3 separate regions of the Homo sapiens genome follow, and all the other regions are linked to region 3. Evidence: promoter capture Hi-C in human tissues and cell types (Jung and others, 2019). All regions are on one chromosome and are shown on one strand. Each heading gives the region's core, a stretch centred on a gene start or on the middle of the fragment in contact. The rest is flanking DNA. Distances are from core to core; before and after follow the strand shown.

Evidence for each region. The method cuts DNA at HindIII sites, captures the fragments that hold promoters and counts their contacts. A contact is called where the count stands out against the background at its distance.
Region 1: a fragment that was not itself captured here is called in contact with the fragment with the promoter of FGF2 in region 3 in 1 of the 25 tissues and cell types used here (H1 embryonic stem cells).
Region 2: a contact is called between a fragment that was not itself captured here and the fragment with the promoter of FGF2 in region 3, in 1 of the 25 tissues and cell types used here (spleen).

Annotation. Positions count from the first base shown.
Region 1 is chr4:122,629,428-122,633,866 of GRCh38, reverse strand. The region is part of intron 7 of IL21-AS1 (IL21 antisense RNA 1); the gene reads right to left. Among named protein-coding and RNA genes, the nearest start is that of IL21, 11 kb to the right of the region's middle. The HindIII fragment of the contact is 3,072 bases long and covers 408-3,479 here.
Region 2 is chr4:122,657,402-122,662,010 of GRCh38, reverse strand. All of the region lies in intron 10 of IL21-AS1 (IL21 antisense RNA 1), which reads right to left. Among named protein-coding and RNA genes, the nearest start is that of IL21, 39 kb to the right of the region's middle. The HindIII fragment of the contact is 3,031 bases long and covers 627-3,657 here.
Region 3 is chr4:122,823,958-122,828,456 of GRCh38, reverse strand. It overlaps FGF2 (fibroblast growth factor 2), which reads right to left and starts at 1,626. Exons shown (of 3, transcript NM_001361665.2): 1 at 1,105-1,626. The coding sequence starts at 1,282. RefSeq lists enhancers at 94-143, 1-195, 184-323, 196-721, 1,004-1,083, silencers at 669-963, 1,304-1,783, cis regulatory regions at 2,283-2,321, 2,322-2,392 and promoters at 1,449-2,416, 1,585-2,767. The HindIII fragment of the contact is 11,104 bases long and covers 1-3,780 here.

The sequences.
Region 1 (4,439 bases), core at 694-3,193, 190 kb after region 3:
AATAAAATAACAAAAAAGTAACTAATGTCATGACTTCCGTTATCTTCCTAGTGTTTTACACTAATATGTGTTTTATAAGCCTTTCTCCAAATTCATATAAGTCTAGGTTATTTTTACTGAAGCTTCAGTCATAGTATGACGCTAAGTATTTGCTCATGGTTTTAATTACTATGGAGATCTCAAAGACAAAAATCATTTTATGAGCAAAGGCTACCCTTTTACCTCTTGCTCATCGTATAAAAATCATGACATTCACATGGGTCACCAGCAGTAAATGGCCTACAGAAATTATGGAAGGAAAACTCCATGTAACTGAAAAATCATCTCAAATGCATATTGGTCTCATCATGATTTCTGTCATCTTCACACATAAAGGCCAGCATGCTTTCGTTTTCTCAAGCATGTGTGTAATTATGGTTTGGCTCGTGTCTTCACAGAGTAGTGACCTGATAGCATCTAGAGAAATACCAAACACACATATGCTCAATAAATGTTTTCTGATGATGTAATGCTTCCTATTTATTGTTTTAATGGCAAGTCATTTTATCTTTCAGATTGGCACATTTTTATGGTAAATGCTGAATAATGAATTTAAGAATCCTCAACTTAGAGTTTAAAAAATTCCTTGAAAGCAATTCTGTCACCTTACCTCCTAATTTTCAGAATGCTATTTAATCTGCCAGTGACTAAGCTTGTAGGAAAAACCTTTTTTGTTGTTAGGTAAAGGAAAATGTGGGTGGAGAGAATGAGGTCTGGTTTGTATCCACCTCATAATTTGGACTGTCCAAGATAGAGGAAAAAGGAAATCTCAGCCCTCCCCAGCTAGGGATATGAGGTTGCTTAGAATTCCATTTTTGGGGAAGTCCATTACCAAAGTTATGTAAATTCTCAAGTAACAAATTGACTCAGCATGTTCCTAAGCCGCAGACCTCTTAGGTGAAGTATGCTAAATACACGTCATTTGCCTATTTGCTCTCATTAAGTGACAGGGAAACCATGTATTTTCCCCACCTCATACACACACAAAGCGGAAGTACACTAAGCTCCCCTGTTGGTCTTGTTCTTATTCACCTTTCTTGCAATTAAGACATTCTGCACCTGACCTTAGCAATTAATTTAAATTACCTTCACCGCTCCCCTCCACCATGATATTCCAGTGAGCTTAAACAATTATAGCTACTCTTCTCTTGCCAAAAATGCTTTTCTTATCTTTTGTGTAGCTAGGAAAATTATTTCACGTTATAAATCTATTTAGAAATCGGCTGGGATTGTCAAAGTTCTAACCACCACATTCCCCAAAGCTTACTTTCTATCATCAGCGATAGCAGCCACTACTATCACACTTTTTAAAAAAGTGTGATCCACAAGAAAGCTTTTCCTCAATTTCTGAAAAAAGGCAGGGAACTAACATTTAATGAGTTAATCCCTGCTATTTGCAAGAAAGTTTTAATGGACTTACATATATCATTTAAAGTCAAAGTTTCTTACTTTTTCATTAAAGACTGATAGTTTTTCCTGTGAATAAAGGAGTTAGAGTGAGCAGAGTTTATAGAAAACATACAGATATGTGAGTCTTAGGCTTCCCATTGCCAACAAGGTGCTCTTCATTTTATACAATGCCAGGGATTTTCTGCCACCCTCACCACAGTTCCCGTATTAATCACGTCCATTCCTAACACTAACAGAAATCATCCTAGGCCGCTGTATCACCGTGCCAGTAGCAATATTCGTGTCTTAGCAGTAGCTATCCCATCACCATTTATTAAGTGTGACCTTGGGCAGGTTTCCTCATCCCTCTGTGTCTCCAGTTTCTCATCTCTAAAGTGGATGACAATAGTAGCTACCTCACAAATGTGAGGCTTAGGTTTATGGTACTTCATTGAATCTACATTGCCATTGATTGTGAGAGGCAGCTGGTTTCAGAAATATTAATTTATGAATATAATGTCCACGAATAGATGACATATAGTAATAGCTAAAAAATATCTAAGTACGAAATTAAGAATAGTGCCTGGCACAATAGGATGTGTCCAACAGATGCCAACTGAGATTATCTATTAGCGACCCATGGGCAACAGGGTAAAAGTGGGCTTGTCAAGCCTCCTGTGGGCCATGATATGGATTCTTCATCTGAGGAAGAACACCTGGAGTACATCCTTGTTGAGTTTTCCTGGGCAGGTCATGCCACTGTTCTGGGCCTCTGTAAATAGGGGGCTAGATTAGTCACCTTTAATTTCTTTTTTCCTACCAGGTAAACATATTTTTCCAAATGAAATCTTACATAGGACCCGAAGTGTAAAACAGATAAAAGGATTTGTTCTGGTTGAAGCAGGGCTGGAGGAGCACCAAGCTCTGCCTATCATCTTTCCTCCCCTTTACCTGCAGGGAAACCCCACCAAGAGTCCTTTCAGGGCAGTCATCTCACCTTGTTGTCATAGTAAGATCATGAGTCTCCCAACACGCCTACAGGTGTTTGTTAATTACTCCAAACTTTGTCATATTTCACCTTATTGGGCTGAATCATTTAGTACTTAATATGTGCATTGCACAGACACTTTCTATTATACTTTTCTTGCTTTCCTCCACTTTGGTCTCCAAACTCCTTCCAATCTGTCTAACATAACTGAGACCATATTTTCATCTCAGTCAGATCACCTGATGACCCTTCCCAGATTTAGTGTAATGCTCGCAGAAGACACAACATGAAGGGTGTTGAACTTTTATTCCATATAAAGCTTTCTGCTCTCAAGGACTTTTTATTCTAATGTCTTCTTCTTGAAACCCTCCTTGAGCTCCATCTCAGAAAGCCTCCACCCAATAACAGATTCAATTTAACTTTTTTTTTTTTTTTTTTTTGAGACAGAGTTTTGCTCTTGTCACCCAGCCTGGAGTACAAAGGCACAATCTTGGCTCACCACAACCTCCACCTTCCGGGTTTAAGCAATTCTCCTGCCTCAGCCTCCTGAGTAGCTGGGATTACAGGCATGCGCCACCGCACCCGGCTAACTTTTTGTATTTTTAGTAGAGACGGGGTTTCTCCATGTTGGTCAGGCTGGTCTTGAATTCCCGACCTCAGGTGATCCACCCACCTCAGCCTCCCAAAGTGCTGGGATTACAGGCGTGAGCCACCACACCTGGCCCAATTTAACTATTTTTGTGTATCCATTATGAGCTTATGGGAAACATAACTTTCTTTTCCTGGATTCTTCACATATAGCTTAGCAGATAAATGAAAACAGAATTACTCTATTCAGTATCCCACACAAATTGTGTAAAGTGTTTCTTCTCTGATGGTGCCTGCTGGATTTGTGTATATGTGAATAACTCAGGCTTGGTATGAGTTATGTGCAGTGTACAATAGGAGCTAACTGAAGGCAGTTTCCACAGAAGCCCATGGTTGTGGCAACTCAGAGAGCTTTGACACAGAGAACAATTGACAACATGTAAGAGAATGTTTTCTAAAATAAAATTACTCTTTAGGGATTCAGAAAGTAAGCAGGATATTCCCAAATCATCTTTCTCCTACATACTAAGCAGATATTGTCTCTTTATAACAGTTTTCCTTCACTTATATTTCCGTAAATTAGAAGAAGTCAAACAGTGTTATTTGTTTTTCTGCACAGGATCATTGATTCAAGGAAGGAAAAAAAAAACCCCAAAGCTCAAATACCAAAAGTCATTTAAAAGAGCCTCTTTCTAGTCCTTAGAGAGATTATAGTATTCAATTTGTTTTATTTTAAACAACTATTTAGAGGCTAGAAAGGTTTATTTAATAAAACAATTACAATTAAAATACGTTTTAGTTTCATGGTATGCAGATTTGAATATGAAACAAAGTGGAAGAAAAAAGTGAAGTAAAGAGGAGAAGAAATCTGGGAGGAATGAGCAACAAAAGAGGAAGGAGGAATAGAGAGACCCAGAGAGGAAGCAGGAGGGAGACGAAGGGAGAGGGAGGCAGACAAGCAGAGCTTTGCCATGTCTGTGGCTCCCTTGGGTGGTGGCTGCTAGCAGTCATCATTCTTAACGATTACTGTTGACCTTCCCCAGCCTCTATTAGGTTTCTAATAACCTAAATGTAAACATTTCTAAATGCTGACCTGAACACCAGCGCCATTAAAAATAATTCTCTGAAGACAGTAGCAATGACCAGAGCAGTGGTTCTGAGAGCTGGATAAGTCAAGTCAAGGGCCAGAGAGTCCCTCATCCCTGTCATGTCATTAAAGCTTCTGATTGATGCAGATCTTGATGACAGAACAGCTTTGACTAAATACGTTAATCTGACCTGTGATGACTTAACTGCCAATATCCAAAATCATTGAACCACCTATCTCTTAATTTCATGAAAATTTACTTTTAGTTGATTCTTGTTACAAGCATGTTTCTTTTGTATTCCTGGTTTTCCTTCTTCTTTTGCACTGATATCCCCCTTGGTGTGTATT
Region 2 (4,609 bases), core at 893-3,392, 170 kb after region 3:
CTGGATCGGGTACCAGTTTTTTTGTGGGTAAAGCATATAGCTAGCTGTTCACACAGTGCCAACTTACTTTCTGGGCCCAGGCTGATTTGGTCAGAGAACCTTCTTCCCTAGGAAGCTTGATCTGTAGTTCCCCTTATCTAGTGACACGTAGGAGTTGCTTTGCTGTTACAGCAACAGCCTGTAACTGTTTGACTTCCAAGACTGACCTGCTGGTTCCTTTGAAAACAAACCCATTGGAGTGACCAGTGAAGTCATCTATGGTGGTAATTGACTGTTTATTGTCTCCACTTGGCCTCCCTGCCAGTGACTAGAGGGTAAACACAATGTTTCAATCATCTTTGTTGCCCCAGCACAGACTCCACACTTCAATGTGCATTTGTTGAACAGATCCAAAGCTGCAATTGGCACTTAACACAGTATCTCACCTGCAGAGTCTCCACTTTGGAGAGGTAGATGCCCTTTCTTTATGATACGTTATCAAAGGCATCCTCTCTTCTAGACACCATGTGGAAGTACATCATTGATCTTTAATGCTTCTGGTTTCCTCTTTTACCCTTAAACTGCTTTTGAACTGTCAAACTGAAGCAAGCCATTTGGTGATTTCTATGCTTGGCATCTGGGGTTATTTGGGGTGTGGATGAGGGCAATTGCTTTATATTCTGAAACACTCATGCAGAGCCTGAGTAATCTTTGCTTTTCTGGGGAAGGAATAGCTTACAGTCTCTTAGGAAGTATGCAGCGCAAAAAGAGAATAAAGCAATGACAAAACAACAACAGCAACAACAAAATGGAAAAAAGATAAAAGACTAAGAACTTAAACTCTACAAATTTATGCACACACATTCTTTAATGAATTAGTTTCTAGACTTGAAAGCAGTTCAGCTAGACCGGAATACATCAACAGTCTTAGTTCTGTCATGGAGTCTCCAGGGAGGACTGCTAACTCCAGCCTCAGCCTCCTCATCTGTGGCACGGGTTCACTGGGAAAGAGGAATTAACTCAAGACACAGTAGTTGGCATTGACTCTCTGATGAAGTTCCAAGTGGGAGAGTTAGTATACTTGTGTATATGGAGAGAGCAGAAGCTACAGGGATATGGATTTTGACTCCATTTAAGGAAGAACTCTCAAATACAAAGCTTTCCTAAGGTGGAATGGCCACTTTGTAAGGTGATATATTATTTGATACTGAAAATATTTGAAATGTCCTGGATATAAGAATGTATTAAGTGGATTCCAAGTTCCCTGACATCTTTTACAAATATGATTTTGTGTCTCGTTGATCGCTAAGGCAGCATTGTACTATATAACTTTCTGCAGTGATGGAAATGTTCCGTATCTGTGAGGTCCAAAATGGTAGTCACTGACTACCTGTGCTTATTGAGCACTTGTATGACTGAGGAACTGATTTTTTAATTTAATTTAATTCTAATTAATTTAAATAGCTACACGTGGCTAGTGGCTACCATATTAGACAGTGCTGCTCTAAAATCTCTACCAGCTCTATAGTTTGAATTTTTTAAGCTCTCATCATTATCATTTTATAATCAAATACTGTGTCCTGGACACTGCGTATAAAATTGCTCTATTTAGGATATGGTCCTGCTTTAGAAAAAAATCACCTTCTTGAGAGAAAAGTAGAACCCATGTAAAAACACTGAATTGGAATAAGGAATAAGGATACATAGCAAATAAACTACTGCCAAACTAGAAAGTGCCCATGTCCAAACACTCTATTGTAGAGCCACAATTAAAACACAGGTGTTTCTAAGAAGCATAAAGATACGAAGACCAGCTCCTGTCCTTTGCTGTCTTTGGGGTGGGAGGGAAGTAGCTTTAGGCTCGAGGCTCCCACTGATGTGTTATTGTGCTGAATGCAGGATTCTTCCCTCAGTACCTACTCAATGGTCTGCTAGTGTTTTCCTATACATTAAGAGTAATAGAGGCCGGGCACGGTGGTTCACTGCGCCAAAGCTTTGTATTTCAGAGTTCTTCCTTAAATGGAGTCAAAATCCATATCCCTGTAACTTCTGCTCTCTCTATATACACAAATGTACTAACTCTCCCATCTGGAACTTCATCAGAGAGTCAATGCCAACTACTGTGTCTTGAGTTAATCCCAGCACTCTGGGAGGCCAAGGCAGGCGGATCACGAGGTCAGGAGATTGAGACCATCCTGGCTGACGTGGTGAAACCCTGTCTCTACTAAAAATACAAAAATTAGCCAGGTGTGGTGGCGGGCGCCTGTAGTCCCAGCTACTTGGGAGGCTGAGGCAGGAGAATGGTGTGAACCCAGAAGGCAGAGCTTGCAGTGAGCCAAGATCGTGCCACTGTACTCCAGCCTGGGCAACAGAGCGAGACTCTGTCAAAAAAAAAAAAAAAAAAGAGTAATAGAGATGTAGAACAATGTGATAAAGTGACTTCAAGCTTCATGTTACTTCACCAGAAAGAAGAAGGTCTTTGAGTTGGATTTTATCATTTTAGATGAGGAAGAAGCCCTGAAATCTAATCCTCATATTTTACAGAGAAGAAAACTGACACCTGAAACCCAGAAAAGACTTGTGCGTTGTACAGTCATGTGGTTATTTAATAGTAGACTATTTCATTTGTGTAAATTAATAATGTAGTAAATAACAGTTATTCTTCTTCTAAAATGTAATCTTTTTCTAAAAAAAAAAAAAAAAAATGGCGCCTCCCAAGAGCTTCTTGGAGTTGAAGGAGAGTCAAGCACATCATCTAACAGCATTTCTCTGGAGTGTTTCACAGCTCTCCTGTTTCTTAAAGGGGTGACACAGACATTTATTGAAAACCTGGTTTGAGGACTGGACTGAACTTCTGCTTGTGTTTATTTCAGCTAAGACGTGGTCTCCCCAGACCTGGTCCCAAGAACAACTGTCATGTGCTCAAGGTCTGCTCTGGGACCATATTCTCTCCAAACAAGGCTCTTTATAGCAGTTGCCAAGAAGAAATTCTTTCTTCTTATAATTCATTGAACATCCTTGTAAGTCACCTAGAGAATGGCAAAATCTAAACAAACAAGTTCTGTTTTCAATTTGTCTTCCTGAAAACCAAACTTCACCCACATGAAACTAGCTAGCATGCCTCAAATACTGAAAGCTTCTAGGTACTTTCTGAGTTTGCTCTGACTCATGTCTTACCTACATATTTATTCTTAATTAAAAAGAATCAAATAAAAGACAGAAGAGAAATTGGGCGCTCTTTCAACAAATTGATTCTTCGTATACCTTCATTTTTTCTTCATTACCATGTGAACCTCTTTCTTTTTCCTTGGAATGAATAGAGAATTCAGATAACTAACATATTTGGAAGATTTTTTAATGGAACATTTAGATTTTACAAGTTCAGCAATTTAAGGAAAGCCACTCTATATCAAGTGCTATGATCTAATCAGATTTCTTTTCATAATGACTAGTAGATTTTCATGATGTCAGTTGCCCATCTAAAACCCATAATTGGTTTCCAAATGGGACTTTTCTGGATTAAATATGACCTCTTAAGCCTGGCAATCTATCGTTAACTTTTTCTTTCCCTCTACCTAGCAAACATCTTCAATTCACTCTTCATCCCCACCCCAACACACTCCCTTTTTCAGCCAGGCTTTTCTCCTTACTATGCTCCCTCCTCTATATTTTTCTTTTTTCTTTCTTTTTTTTTTGGTGAGGGGATGGAGTCTCGCTCTGTTATCCAGGCTGGAGTGCAGTGGCACGATCTCGGCTCACTGCAACCTCCGCCTCCCAGGTTCAAGTGATACTCCTCTCTCAGCCTCCCGAGTAGCTGGGATTACAGGCACCTGCCACCACACCCGACTAACTTTTTAAATATTTTTAGTAGAGACAGGGTTTCACCATGTTGGCAAGGCTGGTCATGAACTCCTAGCCTCAAGTAATCTGCCCACCTTGGCCTCCCAAAGTGCTGGGATTACAGGCGTGAGCCACCACGCCCGGCCACTCCCGACATTTTTCTTGTGTACAGGCCTCTCCTACCTTCCCTGCATAACATTCCATACCTCATTCCCACTATTCAGGACCATCATTTCTTCCAAGAACTGGCTTAAAGCTCTTTCTCCTTTAGAAATATTTCCCATCTAAGCCCATCCAAGACTCATGTTCTGTGACTTGCCTATTCTGAGAATCACTGAATGTTTGTTTGTCTTGATTTTGCATTACTTCTACGCAAAAAGCTTTAGAGCTGGGGAGTTGGGGTTAGGAGGAGACTACACAGATACCCTGCCATTCTCCAGATGAGGAAACTGGGTTTCAGATTGAGTGATTTGTCCAAGATCACAGGATTAGAAGCTGCATCTCCAAGACCAGGCTATTTTCACCTCATCATATTGCCTCTTAGTTTTATATGTGTCATGCTAAAAACTTGGAAGACTAGAAATAGTATTACATAGTATACAAATAAAAGTGCCCAACTGCATTAGAGTGCTGCTTATGTTTCTATTACTAAAAATTGTGGCTACTACCATTTGTGATCACTTACTGTGAAGGAGGAGCTGAGCTAATTACTTTACATGTATTTGTTAATTGGCATGCTGTGTCTGAGACTGCTGGACCATGTTCCCCAGCCTTCCCAGCAGTGAGATGC
Region 3 (4,499 bases), core at 377-2,876:
AAGGAAGGAACGCCATAACACACAGCTTTTAAAACACATGTTTACATACACTTACAGGAGGACAGGTTACAATATATTCTAGTCCTCTTTCTCTCACTTCAAATTCCATCAGTGTTGTAAATCGGCTCATCTTATGCCCCTTTCTTTCTCTTTCCTCTAGACCAGTGGCTCTCAAAGTGTGATGTGATCAGCATCCCCGGGGAACATGTTAGAAATGCAAATCTTCAGCCCCCACTCCAGACTTAGGGAATCCCCTAAAGTCCAAGCACTCCTTATTTAGGCCAGTGTTCTTTCTAGAACCACAAACATTGTTTCTTACAGAAAGCAAAACTGCAATTCTCATTTCATCCTCAAGCCTGCTGCAAGGTAGTAATATATTAGCCCCACGTGAGCGATGAGGAAACCGGCTCTGGGGTTAAGCGTCGGCTCAAGGTCTCAAAGCTAGTCACTGCAGGTGGAAGATTAAAGTGTTTGCACTTCTTTTCACTACTGAAACAAAGCTATGGCACTTTATTAACAACATCTGGATTTTTTGCTGGTTGGCTGGTTGGTTTTTGTTTTTGCTCTTTCAGCTTTCGTCAATTCGGAAAAATATAAAACAGAGTGGGTGAGAGTAGTGTGCCATATGCCTCGGGTCGTCCCGAGTCGGAATTTAAGGGCAGGACTCTAGAAAGGTGTTTTTCCAGTAAAGACCGTTTCGTTCTGCTGCGGTCCTTCCTGTCTTTGTCCCCGGGACAGCACGCAGCAGATAGAAGCGGCCAGAGCTGCATGGCGGGGCCGCGGGCATCCCCGACGCGACAGGTTGTCCGCGGGAAGACAGCCAGTCCGCGAGGCCCCGGCGCGCCGCGGCTCCGGGCCGGGGGTACTGGTTTACAGGGCAAATTGGCACACCCCAAAGCCCAGGGGACACCCGGGCCTACGCCGCAGCCCGGAAAGGAGGGGGTGAGTGGTGAACCCGAAACCGCCGAGGGCCGCGCGGCCAGAAACCACACGGAGCGCTAGGGTCGCAGTGAAGATCCGGGAGGAGGGTGCAGGCTGGAGGGGAGAGAGCGGGCGAGAACCCACGAAATGGAAATGAGGCGGAGAGAGCGGGTCGGCACTCACTGTGAGGGTCGCTCTTCTCCCGGACCCCGTCAACTCGGCCGTCGGGGTGGATGCGCAGGAAGAAGCCCCCGTTTTTGCAGTACAGCCGCTTGGGGTCCTTGAAGTGGCCGGGCGGGAAGGCGCCGCTGCCGCCATCCTCGGGCAAGGCGGGCAGCGTGGTGATGCTCCCGGCTGCCATGGTCCCTGCGGGGCCCGGCCGGGATCCCCGAGCCGCTGGAGCCGCGCGGGGAGCCGCCGTCCCCCGGCCCCGGCCCCGGCCTCCGACCCGCTCCGGGGCACGGCCCCGGCCCCGGCCCCCCAGCCTCCCGCCCGGCAGCGCGCGGCCGCGCCCGCGGTCCCCCAGCCTCGAGCCGCTCGGCCGCTCTTCTGTCCGCCGGCCCCTGGTGCGCGGCGAGCCGGCGGCCCGGGACCTGGGGTTCACGGATGGGTGTCTCCGCGGACGCCGCCTGGGGAGAGCCGCCTCCCAAGCTGCAGCGCCCGGGATCCCGTTGCAACCGCGGGCACCGCGTCCGCTAATCTGGCACCCGCCGGGCCGCGGCGTCACATCTTCTACATCTCCACCCCCCACACCCACCAGCCTCCCGCGCCCCCAGTTCTCCTCCCTCCTGCGCGCCGCCCCCTACTCGCTCGGGTTTTCTGGGGCCGGCCTCTGAGTTCGGCGGTTCGGCCACAACACGCAAGCGCGCGACATCAGTCCGGCGGGGAGCCCGGCCTCAGTCGGGGGCGGGGGAGAGGCGAGGGGCGGGGGGCGCGCGTCGGAGGCCGCGGCAGGGCTTTGGCATTCCCTGGGCTCCACCGCCCCTTATCCCCCAAAAGTCACCCCCGCCCAACCCCCGCACCACCCAAACCACGTTTAGGCTTTCTCCACACTGCGGGGCTTTTGCTGCGCAACCAGCCGTGACTCAACTTTTAAAAGTTTAAACTCAACTTTCTCCCCCATTTTTTCCCCGCTAGCGTTTCAAAACGGAGAAGCCGTTTCCACCCCAAAGTAGAGAAGTTGCAATCCAAGGAAGAGTCTGTGTCAGAGCAGGCTTTGAAAATCTCTAAATCACCAAAAGACGAGGGGTACAAGTGGGGCATAAACTTTAAAATTAAAGGACAGAGGCTGAAGTCGTCTACCAACAAAAGGAGAGAAAGAGGCCAGAGAAGGGGAGCAGATTGGGTTGCTAAAACGAAAAGGTTTCCTTTACTGACCTATCTTGAATTAGACGACGCAGAAAGATGAGGATGGGGATAAGGATAAATCCTTATCGCGATCGAAGCGCATTAATGTCTTAACTCGGACCTGGCATTTGCCCTAGCTAAATTGTTATGCATTTCTTGGAGAGAGAGTTATTTTCTGTAAATCCCAAATGTAAAATTGAAGTTAATTGCATTTTGGTAATTTTCAGTAGGATATAGCAGGTGCCACAGATGACTAGGAAAATATCTATTCAGAAAACTTGCATGTATTGAGTACCTACTGTGTGCAACACATAATGTTGAGTGTGTGGGAGATGCCAAATCTGATGCCAGCGTCTCACACACTGAGGGAGATAAGATGGGTAGCATGAGTAACACAAATAGCAGTAGAAAGTAGGCCATAGAAGAGTAAGACTAAGTGCTGTGACATTTCAGACATCGGATAACTCAGCGTGGGGAGGCAGGAGATTTGGGGAAGCTTCTAGAAGGAGTTGCAAGTATGGACGTGCCTCCTTGTAGAAACATTAGGTTTCAAAAGGCCATGCATAAGTGCATTTGTTCTTAAGTCTCCAAGAAGGCTTTAACTCCAGATGCATTTCTAGAATGTTACATACAGGAGAATGAGTAAATTCTTTGAAGCTTTAAAACCAGGCATACTGTTTTTATTTTTATTATTTATTTATTTTTTTTAGACAGAGTTTTGCTCTTGTTGCCCAGGCTGGAGATCAATGGCACGATCTCGGCTCACCGCAACCTCCACCTCCTGGGTTCAAGCGATTCTCCTACTTCAGCCTACCGAATAGCTGGGATTACAGGCATGCGCCACCACCACGCAGGGCTAATTTTTTGTATTTTTAGTAGAGACGGGGTTTCTCCATGTTGGTCAGGCTGGTCTCGAACTCCCAACCTCAGGTGATCTGCCCGCCTCAGCCTCCCATAGTACTGGGATTACAGGCGTGAGCCACCGCGCCAGGCCCAAAACCAGGCATATTCTTCTTTCTTCTTGCAGTTGGTATATGTTCTATAGAGGAGGAAAAAAAAAATTTCCCCATTCATTACTAGGTTTATGGCTGAAGCCCCTGTAACAAAAGACACATTAACAAGAGAAAAACATACTAACTTATTTATGTGAGTTTTACACAAAACAGGAGACTTCAGAAATTAAGACCCAAAGTTAAGAGGGAAGCCTGTGTATTTTTAAGGCTAGGATTGATAAAGAAGTGGAAGTCATGGAGAAGTATGATTGGACAAATCTGTGATCTAATGGTAATAAACTGGGGGGACTTACTTAGCAAGGCCTATTTGCTCAGATTCTTTTCCCTGTCCGTGTGTCTTCAGAGATAAGGATGTCTGTTTCCTCCAGGTATAGGGAAGGCACCTCTGGAATGAAGGTCTTATGGTCTGCCTCAGAAGAGAAGATCTGGGGAAAGTGAAAGTAACCCTCTTGCTTCTGCTCTTTTCTTAAGTGCCAAGGTACCATTATTTTTGGGTAGCATGTCCTGAACGCCATCAGTTCTCTAACATCTCTCTCCAAAATGGATTTGTTTCATCTTCATTGAAGATCCGTCTGTTGAGACAAAATCACTCCCTCCAGATGATCTCTGTAGGTGCTACTGTGGTGCTGAGTAGTCCCTAGAATGATTGAACTCTCACTTGAACTCTGTGTCACAGAAACCTGAGGATTCCAGGAGCACGGGGATAAAATCTAAGTCATGATATTTTTTAACAATGGCATCCAGAAACCTGGGGAGCAGCTACACGCAGTAAAATAACTTGTATTCCCTACAATTCAAACAAATAATCTAATTTTCAAATGGGAAAAGATTTGAACAGACACTTCTCCAAAGAAAATATACAAATAGCCAATAAACACATGACAAGGGGCTCAACATCATTAGACATTAGAGAAATACAAATCAAAACAACAATGAGATACTACTTTACACCCACTAGGATAGCTATAATTAAGAAATAACAACAACAAAAAATAATAAGTGTTGAAGATGTGGTAAAAGTGGAACCCTCAAACATTGCTGGTGGAAAGGTAAAATGATGTAGTCAATATAAAAACAGTCTGACAGTTAACTCTAAAATTAAACAGAGTCACCAGACAACCCAGCAATTCCACTCCTAGGTATGTAGCCAAGAGAATTGGAAACATATATTCACATGAAAACATGTACATAAATGTTCATAGCAGCTTTATTCATAAT